Linked DNA regions of Homo sapiens: regions 2 and 3 are each linked to region 1. Evidence: promoter capture Hi-C in 16 types of primary human blood cells and fetal thymus (Javierre and others, 2016). All regions are on one chromosome and are shown on one strand. Each heading gives the region's core, a stretch centred on a gene start or on the middle of the fragment in contact. The rest is flanking DNA. Distances are from core to core; before and after follow the strand shown.

Region 1 (4,759 bases), core at 1,508-4,007:
CCACCTTAAGTCTTTTTTTATAGCAAGGATTGGTAAATGACAGCCCGTGGGCCCCATCCAGCTCACTGCCTGGTTTTGTGAAGTCCCCAAACTGGGAATGTGGTGCTTTTTAAAAAATTTTTCTTAATGACTGAAAAAAATCAAAAGAATATTTCAAGACATGTGAAAAGTACATTAAATCCAAATGTCAAGGCCTATAAATACAAATTGTATTAGAACATAGCCAGATTCATTCATTTACATGTTGTCGTATAGATGCTTTTGGGTTATAACAGCATAGAGTGGAGAAGTTGTGACAGGGACTGTATGGGATGCAAAATCTACGATATTTACTATCTGGGCTTTTACAGAAAAAGTTTGCTAACCCCAGTTCTATAGCATGATACAATTAGAGGTTCTGGATTTTTTTCTATGAAATTCCAAAAAAAATTTTACCTTCTTTTTCCAGAAAGAACACCAAAGCAGTCTTCCTATGAAAAAAGGTTGATAGCCTGGGATGATTTGAAATCACACCATTAGGTTATAGTTCCAGTGACTGGCCAGTGGGTCCAGCTTGAAAGACCCCCTCCCTCATTTTAAATACATTACAGTTAGCTCTAGATGGTAAAGCTGGGTCTTACTACCCAACCTGTCCTCCCGTTATTCATCTTGACTGCGTTATGGGTTTAGTTTCACAACATTATGAGTTCATCTAGGCTTCTTGAATCATTTATAGGAATTTTCATTTTCACTCTCAAACTCTTACACTTTCGCTGCTGTGAATTTTTTTTAACATAAAGCTCAGACTACTAAATGGCCTACACATGTACCATAAAGTCCATATTTTATTTTTTAAGAAATCAGAATTTTTAAAAATTGCTTTTTCTTGAGAAACTAAACTTAATTTTGCAGGTCACGAAAGTAAAAAAATACCTTCATATCCAATGATCTCAAAGCACCTCTTGTGAAAATACATAACAAGGTAATAGAAATATTATTTAATGGAAAAGATGTGACTAGTAAAGTCCAAGGCTATTTCTGGTTCTGCGAATGACTCACTTTGACTTTGGGCAAATCATCTCACCACTGTTGCTCTTTATCTGCAAAAACTGGATTTCATGCCTATGGGAGTTGCATGGCTAATCAATGCCTGGAAAATGCGTAGTGGCAGTTGCTACAAAAGTGCTGAGCTTTAAAAACAAAACCCCCCACCCCCCCATTTGTATTCAGTTGAGGTTGGGGTTTATTGTTATTTAACATTCGAAGGCCAACACTATGTTAAGTCCAGAGTGCTGCACAGATCAGATAATATCACTGTCCAGTAGGGGTTTTTTTTAATCTAAGATTTTTTACTTTTAAAAAATTTATTGTGGTTGGGGGTTTAGAATCCGGTAATACATCCATACAAAAACGTTAAGCTTCAAGTTGAAAACTATCGATTCGAAAATCTAAATAAACCCCCTCCAAAAAAAAAAAAAAAGGCCCTCCCCCGCCCCGCCAAGAAATCTCTCAAAACAAGAATTCTTCTGATGTTTTTCTCCTCCCTGCAATTCTCCATGTTACAGTCCTTGGAGGTAGAATAGGCATAAAATACTTTCACTAATAAAATATGACAAACCGCCGGATTATACGTGGCCGATTCCCAGTGATTGCCCTGCTACACAAAGCAGAAAAGTAAATGCCATCATCCCCCTTAGAACAAAAGAACTTAGGAATAAAAAACATGGAGAGGGGGGAGAAAGCAGCAATAAATAAAGGTGAGCGAAGGCCCCCGTCCCCCGCCCCTCCCGGGAGCGAGTGCTGGACTAAGTACTGCTAATAAAGTGGTTCAAGGGTAGTTATTTGGAAAGGGGGCGGGGTGGCGAGGGGAGGGAGCGGGCGAGCGGCGGCCGGGGATTGCATGTTGCATTCGACTTGAGGTTGCATCTTTCTCCTGTTGCCTGGACCACGCTCCCCCATTGCAGTGCTTCCCCATCACTTCTCCTCGCTCCTGCCCCTCACGGCTTTCCCCCCCCCCCTTCAAACTGCTGTTGCACTGGAGGGAGTTGGGGCCGCTCTGGAGCCCCTTTGCAGCTCCCGCCGGCGGGAGGGGGGAGTTGGGCTCGGGCCGCGGAGTTGGGGGGGCCGCCGCGGGCTCCGGCCTCGCCTCGGCTGCGGCTGCACGGGAGCCGAGCTGCGGCGCTGCACGGGCCCCGGAGTTTGGCTGCCTTCGCCGCCGCTCGGTGCTCGGCCCCATCACCGCCGCCGCCGCCGCCGCTGCACTGGAGTTTGGCTGCCGCTGCCCTACTTCACTCTAGTTTAGTTTCACTCACTTTACATCCGGGTTTTTTCCCTAGGCAATGGGTGCCGCAGCACACCCCGTTCCTTAGGCAAAGTGAAATAAATTCGCCGCACCGACACGTCAAGTAGTCCGCCCGCCCGAGCGCCGCCGCGGGCCCCCGTCGCCCCCCCCGCCGACGCCCCACCGCCCCCGGTGGGGGGACCCGAGCGTCCCGGGAGCCGCGGGCCGAGGCGCGGGGGCCCGGGCCGGCCGCCGTACCACTCCGCCCGGCGGCCCCCTCCCTCCCCGCCGCGGCCCGCTCTCCCCCGGCGCCTCCTCTCCCCTCGCCCTCGTCCCCGCTTTCCCAGCCCCAGTCCCTCTCGCCCGGCTCTCGGGAGCGGCGGGGGCGCGCACGGCGGCGGCGGCGGCGGGCCGGCGGGGCCGCGCGGCGGGCTCCCGCGCGGGCGAGTGTGTCTGGGCCTGGGCGGAGGGATCCCCGGGCTGAGGCGGCGGAGGTGCTGCGGCCCGGGGCCGGGTGGTGAATGGGCTGGTGGTGCTCGCTGCTGCTGCTGAGAGGAGGAGGAGGATGAAGAGTTGGGCTTGTTTGTCTCCTACAGTTTCTCTCCTGCTGCTCTGATTCCCCCCTCCCGATTCCGGCCCGGGGCCTGTGTGTGTCCCTCCTGGAGGAGGAGGAGGATCCAGTTCCTCCCCCCAACCCCCTCCTCCCCACCCCCCCTTGCCTGGGGAAGAGGAGGAAAGAAACAGCCCAGAGAGAGAGAGAGAGAGAGAGTGAGTGAGAGAGAGAGGAGAGGAGAGGAGGAGGAGGAGGAGGGAGAAGGGAACAACCTACCATCTTAACACACTAATATCTAAAAAGTGCGAGAGGCCCAGAGCAGCAGCAGAAGCAGCAGCAGCAGCTCCAGCTTCTTCCCTCCCTCCCCATGAAGAAGAGTTCCCTCCTCCTCCTCCTCCTGCTTCTCCTGCTCAGAGTTCCTGCCTCCAGCTGCCAGGGGGGACAGCCAGCCAGCAGCAGGAGGGTGCAGTATCCCAGCTTTTCCATTCTCTCTTCTTCTCACTCTCCTCTCTCTCTTTTTTTCTGGAGTAGCTCTATTTCCCCTCCCTCCCCCTTCCCCCTCTGCCTCTCTCCTCTCTCCCTCTGTCTTGTCGCTGGTGTTTGTCTCTGGGAGGATCAGGGGCTGCCTGCTTGGAGTTTGTTGTGGGGGGAGGTAGGGGGAGGGGAGGGGTGTGTGGGAGGGAGGAGGGAAAGGGGGGTGTTCTCGTCAGGACCCCTCAGTCAACTTGAGATTTGAGCAATAACTTCCCCTTCGGGGCGCCCCCCTGCGTGCCCTTCCCATACCTCCCCCCCGAAAAAAAAGACAATGGGAAAACCTTGGCTCCCCCCCCTCCCCTCTGCCCTCCACCCCTCCCCAGGATAAATTGGAAGTAAGTTTATGAGCAGCCTCGGAAGCCTGGGCGCAGAGTGCAGGGCCGGAGCCGGTGACAGAGGCGGCGTGCCGGGGGCGGCGGGGAGGGGGCGTCACATTGTCCCGGCGGGGGGCCGGCCGGGGGCTGCGGGCGGGGGCGGGGGGCACGGAGCCTCGCCCGCCCCCCCTCGGCTGTCCCTCGGCCGGGGAGGTAGCTGGGGCTCCTCCATCCCCCCCACCCCACCCCGGGATGCTGTCGGGGGGAAGTTTTTATTATGATTATTTATTTAATTAAAAAAAATTTTTTTTTGGAAAACCATCTTGTTTGTTGACTGAGGGATCTGGTTTAAAAAAAAAAAAGCTGCGGCTGCTGACGCTGCCGGGCCCCAGTGTGTGTGTTTGTGTGTGTGTGAGTGTGAGTGTGTTGGTGCATTTGTCTTGGGTGGCCGGAGCAGCGTTGGGGAAATTCCGCTTATTCTTCTTCTTCTGCAACTTGTTATTCCGGAGAGTCTGCCTGCACCCCTCACCCCGGGGCCGGCCCTCCCGCATTCGCCCCCGCCGCCGGCGGCCGCGGGGCGCCCCCGGGACCCCGAGCGGGCCGGGGCGGACAGGCCGCTCCGAGAGGGGCCGCGGCCGCCCCTCCCCCGCCCGCGCCCCCGCCGGGGGGAGGGGCGCGCGGAGTGGGACTCTTTCCGTTTGGTCCAGCCCCGTCGTGCACGCAGTTCCCAACACTTCTCGTCATCCTCTCTTTGGTCTCTTTATTCTGCTGAGCGGTGCTGTTAGGATTTCTTTTTTTTTTTTTTCCCCTGACCACGTTCGCGATGGTGGGTAGCAGCAAGGTGGCCCTGGTAGGGGAGGGGTTGGTATCGAGATTGGGCACCGGAGGAGAACGCCTTCTTTCAACTTTGTCTGTGGCTTGCACCCCCGGAGAAGGCCACAGGCCGGTTGTCGGGTGCAGATGTGCCGAGAGTGATTTCTAAGTAGTTGAGTTGTTGTGATGAGGGTACGACTGCTAATGGTCGGCAGGTTTTGTTTTCATTGGTGAATCTGGTGTCATCATATTCCGGTCATATGTTGAAATATTCTTTGTTTAGGT
Region 2 (4,441 bases), core at 1,404-3,903, 120 kb after region 1:
AAAAATAAGCTGGACATGGTCGTGGGCACCTGTAAACCCAGCTACTCAGGAGGCTGAGACAGGAGAATCACTTGAACTTGGGAGGTGGAGGTTGCAGCGAGCCAAGATCACGCCATTGCACCCCAGCCTGGACAAGAGTGAAACTCCATCTCGAAAAAAAAAAAAAGAAGAAGAAGAAAAAAGGTAGATGGAAGTATCTTCTGTAAAGTGCCACAGATTCCTGGCTTCAGCGCTACCTGGATTCCTTGAAAAGACAGGGGGCCCTTTTCTCATCTCTTAGAACCTCACTATCACTTTGCATGTTTTTGAACACATGGTAGGTATGCAGTGAGCTAGTGTTGATAGATGTCTCGTCACGTTATGGTTGGTTGGAGGGAAGAAAGATCACTTTTTAAGTTAGTCACTCTATATTTAAGTGTTTTTGTAATGGGAAATCACCTGTAAAACGAGCTTGCAGGAACGCTCTAAAGATTAAAACTGTGAAGTGTGTGGCATATGCTAGGCACTTAATAAGTAAATAATAGCTCTTGTTATTGTTATCTTTAAATTTTACTGACTGTTGTTCTGACTTTGACTTTGCATTTTCTGAGATCTTTGAAAATACATATTGTTAGTACCTGTTGATTTGTATTTTGTGCCTTTGAAGGAAAGAATAGAAATATTATTCCAAGGGAGGGTTGTTGGTCTTAAAATATTTTTGTGCCATTTTTATTGTAGGCAAGTATATCACATTCTAATAGGCGTTTAAGACAGTTCAATACTTAATACAAGTGTATCTTTTTAAATAAGACATTTGACCAGCTGAATAGATTGTAGTAACCTGTTGTAAACTAGTTTCAGCTGAAATCTCACTGATCCCACTAGATGGCGTTAGTTCATTAAGGCATAACTTCATCCTCTAGCTCAGGCAGACAGCTGCCTGTGTAGATGAACTGATTTTAGTATCTTTAGAGAGTGAATGTGGCAGTAAACTTTTAGACTCCTTGTTATTTATATAGCGTGATTTGTGGAGGTTATTCAGAAAGTTTAGGAAGATAGAACACTGAGGGCAGATTTATTCAAACTAAAGAACTATAACAAGTTGCAATATTTCGTTAGGTGCTTATTAATTCTGGATTTGACTTAGCCTTTGCCCTAATTGTATATACAACCGAAAGATTAAGAATTTACTGATTTCTCATGGTTTTTTGCCCTATTAAAATAATTCTTGTTTGGGCTTCTGGAAGCATTGGAAAACAAATGAAAATTGGGAGTACACATTTTTTAAAGCATGAAGTTTATAACATTTAATTTTAAAATCATTTGGCTCTTATTTATAGGAACTATGTCAACAGTGATCTACTTGTCAGTTAATCTGGTTCTTTAATCGTAAATGTAAAATAACAGTGAACATCCTAATTCTTTAATTCTCTCTTGTCTGAATTTGAATTATTTTTTATCTACAAAGACTGTTTTATATTAGACCAGCCCATTTTCAAAGTTTAAAATTGTGCTTTTCCACAGGCATTTGTAGGCTCCAAATAAACTTTTAAAATTGTATGTTTTATTTTTCTTACTGTTCTTGAGAGTTCTGAAGTTGAAGTTTTTTAAAGAAATGAATACGATTCACATGCAAAAAAAGCATTTCCACATTTCATTAGAAGTGTTTCTTTTTTCTTTATGATCAGATTCATACAGCTAGAGTAAATTGTTTCAGAATTGGTGGGATGATCCGTCTTGAGCTATGGAAGCTTAATTGTGCTACAAATATTATTCTTTTATTCATTGCTCATAGGGAGTAAGTAGTTGGTGCTGATGGTTCCCCTAATGTTTATTTAACTATTCCAGTATAAGGCAGTTCACATTTCTTAGTAAAAGGATCGTTGATAGTTTCATTTACCTAGTATGTAATAAAAAGCTGAGAATAATCAGGGGCATTTGCTAATGGAGTCAAAATAACCTGTTTTATAAGTCAGAACAGGAAGGTCTGAACATTTGGTGCCCATTAATTAAGTTAATATTGCAAATGAGGTTTTTGCTTTTCTTATTATCTTGAAACCTTCAACCAGAAAAAGCAACTGCCTAAGATTATTTGGTATATACAAGGCGTTAATATATTGTGCAAATATTCTACAGTCTGAAAAATCTCAAAATCTGAAACACTTCTGGTCCCAAGCATAAATTTGTATAAATTTTATACAATATTTTACATCATTTTGTACATGAAACAAAGTTTTGACTGCATGTTGACTATGATCTATCACTTGAGGTCAGGTGTGAAGTTTTCCAGTTGTGGCATCACGTCAGTGCTCAAAAAGTTTTGGATTTTGGAGCATTTTGGATTTCAGATTTTTCAGATTAAAGATGCTCAACCTGAATTTTTGGACTGCGGTTGCTCTTGGTAACTGAGCCTGCAGAAAGTGAAATTACTGATGTGGGGGACTGCTGTATTAGTTGGGTGTATACATGCATGTGTTAAAATTTAACTGCATAATCTCATTTTCCATATTCAGAGACATTTGCAGTAAGAGACAAATATTATTGTAAAGGGAAAAAGTAAACTTTGTTGTGTAGTGCTTATCTGTTTCCCTGTGTTTTTTCTTGAGGGTAGCCATGATAAAGAAGGGGAATAAATTTCGAACACATGTAAGTATGTGTGTAGTGAATGGGAGAGAGGGAGAGATGGTATTTTCAGGAGGCATAAACTGTATTTTACAAAGACATCTTTTAGATGATGAGTCCTTTAGTCTTGAGGAGACAGTTCAATGGAAAGCATTCTAGGCCTGGCAGATACAGCCCTCATCCACAGTAAAAGTTAAGTGCTATGAAAAAGTAATAGTCTGTGCTATGCAAACCAATATGAAGAAAAGTGAGTTTTTGTTTGATAAGAGGTCAAATGAGCACAGTTCTTTAAAACTTTTATGTTGAAGAAAAGAATAGAGAATATTCTGTCATAGCTACTGATAAAATATTTCAGTTTATGAAATATTGTCACTTACATGTTTTAAGTAGCTTTTAATATAATCTTAGAACAAGGACTTCCTTCTCTCCTCTACCCCTTCCCTACTCCCCAGTGTCTCTTATTTCTTATCTATTAAAAGTGAAATCCATTTCCTTTGGTCAAAAGTACAAGTTTTTTACAGTGTCCAAGACATCTCAAATTGATTCACTTTGTTATATAGAAAACACCATCTGTGATGTCAGACCATTTCTTAGAAAATTGACTGTTAAGAGCTCTTTTGCATTGAGTTATTTGGTTTTTATGAAGATGAACATTGGATGAAATTTCTTACCAGTATGCATAATTCAATGATTTTAAGAATCTATGGAAAATAAATTTAAACATTTTTAAATGAAATGGGATAAGAAAAAGGGGAGACAGGATTTTATTCATTGGTATATCTTTTTAATTTTCTACTTTGTGACTCCGTTTAAAAAAACCAACTCTGTAATTTTGAAGCAGAGATTCTGAAATTACCACTTTTCTAAAAATATCACTTACAGCTGAAACTTAATATATTGAAGCATTTTTGTTCTGAGGATGATACATATTTTCATAAAGATGTATTTCCAAATGGAAACAGCACTGAAGCTTCTGAAATAGGGAACCTTTCCAAAATAGGCTGTGGTTGCCTGGGTGAAGAATATTAGGTTGCAACACTCAAAAAGGAAATCCTGGCATAGGAAGCAATTGATGAAGGGCAAATGTCTGCAGAGTGTAATGAAGCTTTTAAAAGCACTTGTGTGGGCCTGCATGCAAGGCCTTGCCAGTACTTTTCAAATTAAAATTCATGTGCTCTGTAGTGTGCTGAGCCATACTCATACTTCCATCTTTACTTCTCTTCTACATAATATATCATTCTTATTTTTAATCTTCTATAAGTACTAGTCATCATCCTAGTGAGAATTGTAGCGTTTTCTCACTCTGCCCTTCGTGAAAATGTCATCATCATTATGGGCAGCAGGGCAGCTTTATGGTGTTTTAAAAATCAAGTTCATCAGCATTTTTAAGCTATCAATTTCTTGTTTTAGTGTCATTAGTACTATGAATATTGAATATTTTATGACTCTTTAGTTTTATAAAATATTTTTTTCTTTTAGCAGTGGGGGAGAGGATAGGTATTATCCTCATTTTGTAACAGTATTAACACCGAAGAGAGTCTGAGTGATGACTAGACACATAGATGGTGTGAAAAGAAAACTTGGCATTTTTTTTTTTTTTTGAATGTTAGCCTTTAACCCAAGCTCTTTCCTCCATACACTATATGCACAAAGTTTTTAGGACTTTTTTTAGTGGCACTCTCATATACAGATTTTCTTTTCAAAGCAAGAAATAATCTGAGCTTTAAAAAGATTCTATTGAGGAAATTATTCTACTCCTGTTTTTATAGTCTCAGAATGTCTCAAGATAATTTTAAATGGGTTTGTGCTATTTGGGGGAGAAGAGAAAGTCACAGAAACT
Region 3 (4,147 bases), core at 1,148-3,647, 120 kb before region 1:
CATATATATATATATATATATATATATGGCTGGTCAAGTGAAGCAGTGTGAGTGGAGAAGAAAAGAAAAAAGAAAAGAAAGAAATCTGTAACTGAATGTGATCAGTTAGTTGCAAACACCACTGCACTCGGACCAGCCCATATATATATTTTTTATTTTAATAGTTTTGAATTTATTTTCAGCCTGTAGCTTTGCTAATGTTATTGCTTAGGGCAAAGCTATCTAAAAAAGGGAAACGGTTTAAAGTTAAAGAAAAAGTTAATAAAATAAAAGTCTATTAAAATATATAATAGTGGTGGAATGTGGACATGGAAGCAAACCGTGAAGGCAATATCCGAACAGCTGAAAATTTTGGAAAATAATCGGTGACGTCTCCTGCTCATAAAACCTAAAACAGATGAGCGAGGCAGAGGAGATACTGACAAAGGAGGTATCAAAATCTTGCCTCCTTTCCGCCCCGTAGCCACAATGCCTCCCTTCTTAAGAAAGTGTGTGGTGTGAGGGCCCAGACCCGCGAGGCTTGACTGTGCTTCCGAGCTGTGGATCCTGGACAGTGCTGCGGATCGGGGGCGCAGGAGAGGGACGCCGAATCCAAAGGCCCAAGTCTGGAAACCGAAGCCAACTTCCCAACTTCGCTCTGCCGGTGCGTTTGGGGAGATTTGGGCCTCTCTGATTTTTTTGGATCACTGGGTCAATCAGTCAGCCAATGCCTCGGGAGAAGTTTAATTAAGCTCAGATCGCAGGCGCGAGCTGCCAGAGGTCTCCCTGGCCGACCGGCCCCGCCCCCCGCACATCTGGTGAAAAGCTCCCCCTCCGCCCTTTGGGGCGGGGCCGCAGCCCGCGCATGCGCGTCGGCCCGGTTCCCGGCGCCCCGCAGCAGGACTCAACTCCCAGAACAGCGTTGCAAACTGTTGCATCAGACAGCAAGCAGCCGGTCGGGCTGCCAGGGTTTCTAGGAAGATAGGAAGGGTTTGAGATCCTCTGTGGTCGCCTGGGAGCTTTGGCTGTCACTCACGGTGTTTACATGCCGGTAACGCGATCCCCTAAAATATCAAGCTTGCACCCATCAGAGGAGGGCCATAGCCACAGGTGAAATTCCCTGAACGCCATTGCTCCTGTCCTCACTCCACGCCCTGACCCAGGCGGGACTAACTGAACTGGACTTCGTCTGCTTTATTAATGGCAAGGGCCCTGAAGGAATCAGCTGGGTTCGATTTCTCTTCCCAAGTACAAGAATGCCCCCTGAGGAATTTCTCACTCTGTGAAAGTGCAGAACTAATTTCCCCTGACAAGTGCTATTGCCGGTTCCCAAAAGGGTTTGGAAGGATCCCAGCAGAAATGTTCAGTGGTTTCCAAATCTCTTTACCCCAGCAGCTGGACACACAGACCCTGAGCTAGGAGCCCCTTTGGGCATCCAGAACTTCTTGGTGGGTGGACACACGTCCTTGACACATAGGTCTTCCTTTTGTCGTATCTCAGGCCCCTTGTTATGAAGACTTTGGATATTAGCCAGAAAATGCACAACCACAAATTCATGCACACATATATATTGAGCAGCACACATATACAATGAGTTCTCTGGGTCCAAATGGCTTTAGCAACTCAGGTCAGTGGAAAAGTCGTTCTTACGTTCCCTCACTCTTCCGGCCTCTGGGCCATTCTTCCTCAAAGAGAGAAAATAATGCTGTATCTAGAAGGGATAGGACAAGCTAAGCTGGTGGGTGGGATATTCAAGAAGAATGAGAGCACTGATTTGGAATCTAGTTTTTAAAGGGATTTTCAAGGACATAATCTGAATCCCATGGCTCAATCCTCTTTTTTTTTTTTTTTTTTGGAATGGGTCAAGACCAAGATCATTCAGTATTAATGGATTTTCCAGAAAGACAAAAACTGGCAATTTACCTTGAGCATTCTGCATCTTTAGGGTGTTGATGGTGAAAGTCTATTCCCTGTGAATAATTCTGAGAACTAAAACAGGCCTAATGTCTTCCTTCCCCTTCATTATTATCAATCACTCGATCCCAAGATTAAAAAAAAAAAGACCCAAAAGACTCATAAGCATTATTCGATGCGTCCCTTGCCAGACAGTCACTGTTGTTTGTTTTAGCTAGCATTTTCCTGTGAACAGTGGAGTATTATGTCACTATGGGATTCTCATTGTAATAGATGTTTCATAAATATGACCTGAATTATTTCAGTTGTCACAGTGTTCTTATGAATGGAAGGAAAGCCAACTAGGAAAGGATGGGACGGCATTGGCAGGTCCTGGAGCTAGAACATTCCCAAGTTCTGCTCCTGAAGGTCCATCAGGATCCAAACCTGCCAAATGGGTACCCCCAAGGTGGGGTTCTAAAGTCAGCAGGTATGGTCTCAGGAAGCTGCCCGGAGCTGATAGAATGTCAGATGTGTCTGGTCAGGCATGGTGGCTCATGCCTGTAATCCCAGCACTTGGGAGGTGGGCGGATCATCTAAGGTCGGGAGTTCGAGACCAGCCTGACCAAAATGAAGAAACCCTGTCTCTACTAAAAATGCAAAATTAGCCGGGTGTGGTGGTGCATGCCTGTAATCCCAGCTACTCGGGAGGCTGAGGCAGGAGAATCCCTTGAACCCAGGAGGCTGAGGTTGCGGTGAGCTGAGATGGTGCCACTGCACTCCAGCCTGGGCAACAAGAGTGAAATTCCGTTTCAAAAAAAAAAAAAAAAAAAAGTGTCTGAGTAGTTGTTCCCACATGGAGAAGCAAGTCAGTTACTATGGTGGAGCCAAACCTGAAAGTTGGAGCCATGAAGAAAGGAGCCAGGTGGAGGTGGGAACAGGAGAAGGTGAGCCCATGAGCTCATGCTAGGTTCTCTGCTGTCCTCCCAGCACCTACATATAATGGGCTCTCAATACATGTCTGTGGAGTGAAGGTACTGAAAGAAGGAGGGAAGAAGAAGCAGACTGAGGAAAGGGCAAAGAAGTCCAATAATTTTGCAGGAGGCCACCTGGGATGGCCAGGGTATTGGGTGAAGAGGGGGAATTCTTCCAGTTTAAAGGCACAGGGCAATACAGTCAGAACTATTAAGTGACAAGTCCCATGACTTTGTTTTCCTCGTTTGGAAAAACCTCCAGTTGGTGGTTCCAGAGCTGAGCAGTCATTCTACTTCACCAAGCCTAGTGACATCATCACCTATTGCCTCACCTTGATTGAATTTCCAGAGCAAATTTCTGGAAAAGGGAGGGGTCTGAGGAGTGACTGAGATCTAGAGGACAGGAATATCACCCCAGAAGCAACACTTCAAAACCATAAGCAGGCCGGGCGTGGTGGCTGATGCCTGTAATCCCAGCACTTTGGGAAGCTGACGTGGGCGGATCACCTGAGGTCAGGAGTTCGAGACCAGACTGGCCAACATGGTGAAACCCCATCTTTTCTAGAAATACAAAAATTAGCCGGGTGTGGTGGCAGGTGCCTGTAATCCCACCTATTCGAGAGGCTGAGGCAGGAGAATCACTTGAACCCAGGAGGCAGAGGTTGCAGTGAGTTAAGATTGTGCCATTACACTCCAGCCTGGGCTACAAGAGTGAGACTCCGTCTCAAAAAATAAATAATAATAATAATAATAAATAAAACCATAAGCAACGTGGTAGCCCAGATGGTCAGATGATGCAAGCATGTACTAAAAGGGTGATTTGTTTTACACATTCATTGGGCACTCACAGATTCTAGACACTATACCAAGCCCAGACCCAGACAAAGCTTCTGCCCTAAGGGCTTATGATCTAAATTCCTTGTGGAAAGTCTGTTTTTGAAATGTTTAAGGCATCTCATTTAATCCTCATTTCCATTTCAAGTCATGTACCTCCTTCCTGAGAAACCCACCACATTTTAAGTTTGTAGCTGGCTTTCCTTCTGTTTTTGCTATTTATGTGCCAATTTAAAGGGTGGGGAGAGCCACATTAATTTTAAAATAAAACACAAATAGCAAAATGAGGCTTGGTTAAAGGAAAAACCACAAAAGGGATTTTTTTTTTCTTTCTCCCATACTTTTCAGATTTTCCTAGAACCACCTTTATTTTCTCAGAGCCCAGACATAGAAAGTGAGTGGGCCTCTCCGGATGCTCTTCCAAGCTAAAGCCAAAAGCCTCATTCTTATTCTCTCCTTGCACCTTT

What was found. Contacts are between HindIII fragments. The CHiCAGO score rates a contact against its expected background, and 5 or more counts as called.
Region 2: a fragment that was not itself captured here is called in contact with the fragment with the promoter of PHF21A in region 1 in 1 of 17 cell types (megakaryocytes); the score reaches 5.4 in megakaryocytes.
Region 3: a contact is called between a fragment that was not itself captured here and the fragment with the promoter of PHF21A in region 1, in 5 of 17 cell types (M0 macrophages, M2 macrophages, M1 macrophages and 2 more). The highest score is 10.3, in M0 macrophages.

Annotation. Positions count from the first base shown.
Region 1 is chr11:46,119,452-46,124,210 of GRCh38, reverse strand. It overlaps PHF21A (PHD finger protein 21A), which reads left to right and starts at 2,757. Exons shown (of 19, transcript NM_001352027.3): 1 at 2,757-3,276. LOC105376661 (a long non-coding RNA gene) reads right to left here and starts at 2,066. Exons shown (of 3, transcript XR_931252.4): 1 at 1-2,066. RefSeq lists silencers at 1,925-2,234, 2,675-2,734, 4,148-4,227, 4,298-4,357, 4,541-4,698. The HindIII fragment of the contact is 5,748 bases long and covers 1,400-4,759 here.
Region 2 is chr11:46,003,045-46,007,485 of GRCh38, reverse strand. The region is part of intron 6 of PHF21A (PHD finger protein 21A); the gene reads left to right. Among named protein-coding and RNA genes, the nearest start is that of LARGE2, 83 kb to the right of the region's middle. The HindIII fragment of the contact is 1,841 bases long and covers 1,733-3,573 here.
Region 3 is chr11:46,240,150-46,244,296 of GRCh38, reverse strand. No RefSeq gene overlaps it. Among named protein-coding and RNA genes, the nearest start is that of LINC02710, 23 kb to the right of the region's middle. RefSeq lists a silencer at 716-925, enhancers at 4-937, 938-1,871 and a cis regulatory region at 369-1,251. The HindIII fragment of the contact is 2,677 bases long and covers 1,059-3,735 here.